Linked DNA regions of Homo sapiens: region 1 is linked to region 2. Evidence: promoter capture Hi-C in 16 types of primary human blood cells and fetal thymus (Javierre and others, 2016). All regions are on one chromosome and are shown on one strand. The core of a region is centred on a gene start or on the middle of the fragment in contact, and the rest is flanking DNA. Distances in the headings are between cores, read along the strand shown. Region 1 overlaps PCDHA1 (protocadherin alpha 1). Region 2 holds the start of PCDHB6 (protocadherin beta 6).

Region 1 (3,173 bases), core at 289-2,788, 260 kb after region 2:
CTCAGTAAAATATTAAAAAAAAGGAAAATAATTTTTTCAGAAGTAAACACTAAACCAGAAGGCACATAACAGCATATAAACACTATGGATAATGCCTAAAGAAAACTATAAGATGAAAACAAGAATAAAAAGTAAAATATTTTTTAAAAAAGAGCTAGGTAGGATTTAGGAGTGTTAGCTACAAAAGAAAAGCAAAGAATATCTAATACAAATATAATTGGAGCCATTGAAGAAGAAATCTGAAGTAATAAAACAGAAGAAATACTAAAATCTATAATTTAAGAAAACTTTCCAGGAAAATAAACTTCAAAAATACTTGTAAATAAGCTACCACTTGTAAAGAAAAGAAAATTACATTGTCATTCAACATCTTTAAAATGAGAATATAATAGCATAGAAAAAATATATAACTATGGAAAGAAAGTCAAAATCAGGGATAATTACATAGAAGGGAATTATTTCAAGTTATTTGAAACTTCTCATCTGCAACACCAGGAGCTAGAAGATACTGGAATAAAATAAATGTATTTAAAAATCAATTCAACAGAGGACTTACATTACCAGTATGCAGAACTGGTAATTTGAACCAACCATACAATTGGAGATATTTTAAAATTATAAAAGTATCTAATGACTAATAAAGTCATGCAGAATTAACAGGTAGAGATTCTGAAAAAGACCACAAATTCAGAAGGTAAAGTAACTTTCTGGCCACTTTGGATCTGGGTTGTTTCTATACAAGAGGTAGGGCATCAGGATGGCTGAGTAGTCTACGGTACCAGACTCAAGACAAGGAGGGAATTCTAAAAACGGTAAAAGAAAAGTGACAAGTCACCTATAAGAAAATTCCCATCAGACTAACAGCAGATTTCTCAGCAGAAGCTTTACAGGCTAGGATAGAATGAGATGATATATCCAAAGTGCTGAAATTTTTTAAAACTATCAGCCAAAAATACTATACCAAGCAGAGCTATACTTCAGAAATGAAGGAGAAATAAAGTATTTCCCAAACAAGCAAAAACTGAGGAAGTACACTACAACTAGATAAGTCCTACAAGAAATACTTAAAGGAGTTCTACAACTGCTTTTTTTTTCTTTTTTGTGAAGAACAGGGTCTTGCTATGTTGCCCAGGCTGGTCTTGAACTCCTGGCTTCAAGCGATCTTCCTGCCTCTGCCTCCCTAAGTGCTGGGATTACAGGCATGAGCCACTGTCCCATAAATGCTGTTGGTGGGCATGTAAATTAGCACTGCCACTAAGGAAAACAGTATGGGAGTCCCTCAAAAAACTACAAATAGAACTACCATATCATCCAGCAATTCCACTATTGGGCATTTATCCAAAGAAAAGGAAACCAGTATGTCAAAGTGATACCTGCACCTCCCATACTTACTGCAGCACTATTCACAATAGCTACTATGTGGAATCAACCTCAATATCCATCAACAGATGAGTGGATAAAGAAAATGTGGTGTATATGCACAACGGAATATTATCCAGCCATAAAAAAGAATGAAATCCTGTTATTCATGGCAGTATGGCTGAGCCTGGAGGGCATATGTTAAGTGAAATAAGTCAGGCACAGAAAAATAAATACATGTTCTCACTTATACGGCAGCTACAAAATTTTATTGAGCTCATGGAAGTAGTATTGTGCTTATCAGAGGCTGGGAAGGGTGAAGGAAAAGGAGGATGGGGAAAGGTTGGTTAATGGATACGAAATTATAGCTACACAGGAGGAATGGGTTGTGGTGTTTTGCAGCACTGTAGCACTGTAGGATAAATATGGTTAACTATAATTTCTTACATATTTTCAAGAAGCTAGAAGAGTGGATTTTAAATGTTCACCATGCAAAAATGGTAAATGTTTGAGATTATGAATATGCTAATTACCCTGATTTTATTATTATACATTGTATATATGTATCAAAATGTCACTCTGTATCCTATAAATATGTACAATTATTATGTACCAACTGGAAATAAAAGGAAAAAAATAGGTGAATGAATACTGAGATATACTTTTGACAGTCTCCAAGGACTAGAGAAACAAAAGTCAGAATCCTGAGTCTACCAGTCATGGTGGAACTTCTTAAACAATCTCTCATGTTTGGCTAGGAAACTGAATAACCGTACTTAAAGAATACATGTAAATTTTAGATAATGAGGTTTTATCTAGAATACCTGAAGCTTGAAATAGATTAAGATTACCCATGATTGCTAGTGCCCCAAGATGCCTGGCAAAAGTCAATTAAAATCCATTCTGGAGAAAGAAAATGTTATAAGCCCCAAATTATTTCCAGGAAGAAGTGTTTAATACAACTTTCAGCACAAAATCAAAGATAACCAGGTTTATGTGGAGACAAAACACCATAAAGATACAATTTTAAAACACACCACAGGAATAGACCCATGAGGATCCCAGTTACTGGACATATCAGAAATAGACGCTAAAACCATGAGCTTATTGTGTTCCAGATATAAATGCCAAGCTTGAAAGTTTCGAGAGGAAACTAGAAATTATACAAAGTAACAATAAATTTGAAAAAGAATAAATAAAAGTATCTTAGACCATTTGTGCTGCTATAACAGAATGCCACAGACTGAGTAATTTATGAGAACGGAAATTTACTTCTCACAATTCTGGAGCCTAGGGGAAGTCCAAGATCAAGGCACCAGCATCTGGTGAAGATCTTCTTGCTGCATCGTCACATGACAGAGCCAAAAGCATAAGAGAGGGACAGGCTCCTTCCATCAAGTCCTTTTACAGTGCCGTTAATTTATTCATGAGGGCAGATCCCTCATAATCTAAACATTTCCTGAAATTCCCCACCTCCCAACACTGTTGTATAAGGGATTGAATTTTCAACACATGAATTTGGGGGTACAAATTCAGACAACAGCAAGAAGAGAGAATTATTAAACTTTAAGGTGGGTGAACTATCCACAATAAAGCCCAAAGAGCAAAAGGTGTTAAAATAAAAGGTAGAAATAGATGGGATAGAGTAATAAGATTAAAATATGTTTAATTAGAGTACTAAAATAATACTATAGAAATACAATGGAACAGAAGCAACATTGGAGAACATTATAGCTGAGGATATGCTCAAAGTGATGTAAAGGCATTAATTCACAAATTCAAAAATCCTATACAATGGACGTTGGGGACTTGGG
Region 2 (3,310 bases), core at 622-3,121:
GGCGAGTTGTCGTTGGCGTCCAGCACCAGCAAGCGCACCAGCGCCTCGCTGCTCAACGCCGGGGAGCCGCGGTCTGTGGCGCCCACGCGGAACTCGAAAGACTGCAGGGCCTCGTAGTCCAGCGACCTGAGGGCAAACAGGTGGCCGTTGTCCGCGTTGATGGAGACCAGGGAAGAGAGGGGCAGGTGCGGGTCCTGGGGCGGCAGCAGCGAGTAGGTGACCTGGGCGTTGATGCCTGAGTCTCTGTCTGTGGCGCTGACGCTGCCGATGTGCAGGGCGGGGCTGTTGTTCTCGCGGACGAACAGGGTGTAGGAGGTTTGGGTGAAGGCGGGGGCGTTGTCATTGACGTCGGAGACCTGCACAGTTATGCTCTGCTGGGTTTTCAGCCTTGGTGTCCCCAAATCAGTGACCGTGATAGTGATGTTGTACTCGGCTCTGCTCTCTCTGTCCAGCGCGCCTTCTGTTACCAGGGTGTAGAAATTCTCCACGGAAGGTCTTAGTAGAAAGGGGAGATTGTTCTCTATTGAACAAATAACCTGTTGGTTATGTCCAGAGTCTGCATCTGAAACACTGAAAACTGCCACTGTGATCTCTGGTAAGTTTTCTGGGATGAGGCTGATGAAGAACGACATGGTGAGTTCAGGGGCATTGTCATTCACGTCCAGGACCCTGACGACTAAAGAGCATTTTCCTGATAGGCCTCCACCATCTGTAGCCTCAACATCCACGTCATAAGACTGAATTTCCTCAAAATCCAAAGCCTTTCTCAGCCGAATTTCTCCTGTGATTGCGTTTATTTCGAAGGGTTGGTTGACGTCATCGACTTGAAACAGGGCGTAAGATACCTTCCCAAACGATCCTGCATCTAAATCTCTGGCTGAGACGGTAATAACCAGAGAGCCGAGGGGGTTGTTCTCAGGGACTTGTGCTTCATAGAGCTCCTGAGCAAACTCGGGGACGTTGTCATTGATGTCCAAAACCTGGATCTGAATCTCGGAGGTCCCTGACCGGGGCGGAGACCCGCCATCCAGCGCGATCAGCGTTAGCCTGAGTTGGGGCTGCTCCTCGCGGTCCAACGGTTTGTCTAGCACCAGCTCCGGGAACTTCCTGCCTTCGCTGCGATTGCGGGTGAGAACGTGGAAGTGAGGGTTGGAGCTGATTGTGTACCTCTGAAGGCCGTTGCTGCCGGTGTCTAAATCGTGTGCCATTTTCAAAGGAAATATCTTTCCTGGCATAGTAATTTCTGATATTTTCAGGAGCATTTCTCTGGCAGGGAATTCCGGGGCGTGGTCATTTATATCTCTGACTCGCAAGGAAGCCTGAAAAAACTGCAAGGGGTTTTCCAGTAACACTTGGAAAGGTAGCACACACGGCTCAGTGGAGCCACACAGCTCCTCCCGGTCCAGTTTTTCATTTAGCAGTAAATCATGGGTCTGTGGATCAAACTGCAAATGTTGTCTGTTCCCTTTGAAAACAACCCGAGCGCCCCGCGAAGCCAGCTCCCCCACCCTCAGTCCCAGGTCCTTTGTCAAGTTGGCCACAAACGTGCCACTTTCTGTCTCCTCCAATACGGAATACTGAATCGATTCAGAACCCACCTCTCCCCAAAGCATCAATAAAATGAAGAAAGCCACTTGCCTTTTCTTGTTCTGTACTTTAGTTTGCATCATGTCTATTATGTCTGAATACGGAAGAAAAATCCTTTTCAGCTCCCAATCACCACATCTACCGTCGACCCTCTCGGATGTCTTTGCAGAGATTTTTAAATTCGTTCTTACAACTTGTCTGGCGACGACTGCCTTCCCGGACACATCTATCTCAGCTTTAGCTGTAAACGTGGTCTGTATTTTTACTTGGCTTCTGGATGAAACGGAGTCCACCGAGTCTGCAGAGCTTTCATTCACTCTCTTAGCTTGTACCGCCACCACGCGTTCAAACTAATAACTTCATGAGATGTTTTCAGGTCAATAGCATTTCAGAAATCTGAGCATTATAAAGACTTTTAAGTCGAGTCAGTGTTTCTCAAACTGAGTGCGTGGACCGCATGCATAAATAATTGCTTGCGAGCGTTGGTTTTTTTGTGTGTATGTTTTTGTTTTTAAGCCAATTCCTGGGTTCACTCCCCTCTAGAACTTGAATCAAATTCCCTGGTGGTGCTAATTAAGGAGAAAGATTGAAGTGCAGATTCTACACTTCAGTCTTTCTCCTTTGATGCTTCAGCAGTGCAATTTATCTCTGATGAACTATTTAATCTATTAGTCCAAGAGGTACACTATTTAATTGTCCCAACAAACAATGCAAAACAACGAAGTTTGTTAGCAACAATAATGGTAAAATAAACAATAAATTATCTAAATTATATGACTCATAAATGGCATGAAAAAAAAAACCTACTTTGTTATATAGTTATGCCTGCACAGTAAAAAGAACAATTAGGCTATTAGGAGGAAAACTGAGGCCAAGAAGTACGTATGATACATGTATCTAAGTAAATTAAAGTATTTAAAAGAGGGACTAGAAGCAATCAAGTAGTTGTCATAAGCATTTTAGGATTCTACTCCATTTTTGCATGGATAGAATTAGACATTGTTTTAACAGTCTTGTGCATTTTATTTTTTGATCAAATTCCCCTCTTACATTATTTAATCAAGGTCCAAATATATTACCGTGTTGTACAAACATGATGCAACACAGAAAACAAACATTCAAGAATCACCTTCACCGTCTTCTCACAGCAAAAAGAACACCAAGTCCAATAAATACAGGCCAAATTAAGGTACTGTTAAAACAGGTGAGTTACATTTGAGTGAATGCCATGGAATTCAATGATGGAATATTATGGCTATATCCATTCCCATCTCACTAGTTTCTACTCAGATACATTGGAACATGTATCTCTAAACAAACTGAAAATGTGTGAAATAGATTAGTGCACATAGAAGAGGTAAAATATGCCAAACAATTCAATTCATTTCAGATTAATTTCATATTTATTGAGAGGTGAAATCAATTGAGTTCAAACAAAGTTCACTTCAGGTAAGGGCCAAGGTGATAGAAGATTAAAAATCAAGATATTTTCAAATACATAAATGCTAGGCAAAACAAATAAGGCTAAATAAAATCTAAACTCTGAATAGCTGAGATGATCTTGTAGTTCAAAATCACCTCTATGTAGCCAGAAAAACAAAAGATTATGAATGTGACCAGCCTCCAGGGTTCACTTGATAGATGCTACTGGGAACACACTGTTCCTTGAGAATGTAACAAAATGAAATTATGAAATAAACCAACAATAATAAACATATTGGAC

What was found. The method cuts DNA at HindIII sites, captures the fragments that hold promoters and counts their contacts. A CHiCAGO score of 5 or more calls a contact.
Region 1: a fragment that was not itself captured here is called in contact with the fragment with the promoter of PCDHB6 in region 2 in 1 of 17 cell types (M0 macrophages); the score reaches 5.6 in M0 macrophages.

Annotation. Positions count from the first base shown.
Region 1 is chr5:140,891,419-140,894,591 of GRCh38, reverse strand. The region is part of intron 1 of PCDHA1 (protocadherin alpha 1); the gene reads right to left. The region is part of intron 1 of PCDHA2 (protocadherin alpha 2); the gene reads right to left. The region is part of intron 1 of PCDHA3 (protocadherin alpha 3); the gene reads right to left. All of the region lies in intron 1 of PCDHA4 (protocadherin alpha 4), which reads right to left. It also overlaps PCDHA5, PCDHA6, PCDHA7, PCDHA8, PCDHA9 and PCDHA10, and 4 more genes. Among named protein-coding and RNA genes, the nearest start is that of PCDHA13, 11 kb to the right of the region's middle. The HindIII fragment of the contact is 1,307 bases long and covers 885-2,191 here.
Region 2 is chr5:141,148,618-141,151,927 of GRCh38, reverse strand. PCDHB6 (protocadherin beta 6) reads right to left here and starts at 1,871. Exons shown (of 1, transcript NM_018939.4): 1 at 1-1,871. The coding sequence starts at 1,670. It also overlaps PCDHB@. The HindIII fragment of the contact is 6,099 bases long and covers 1-3,310 here.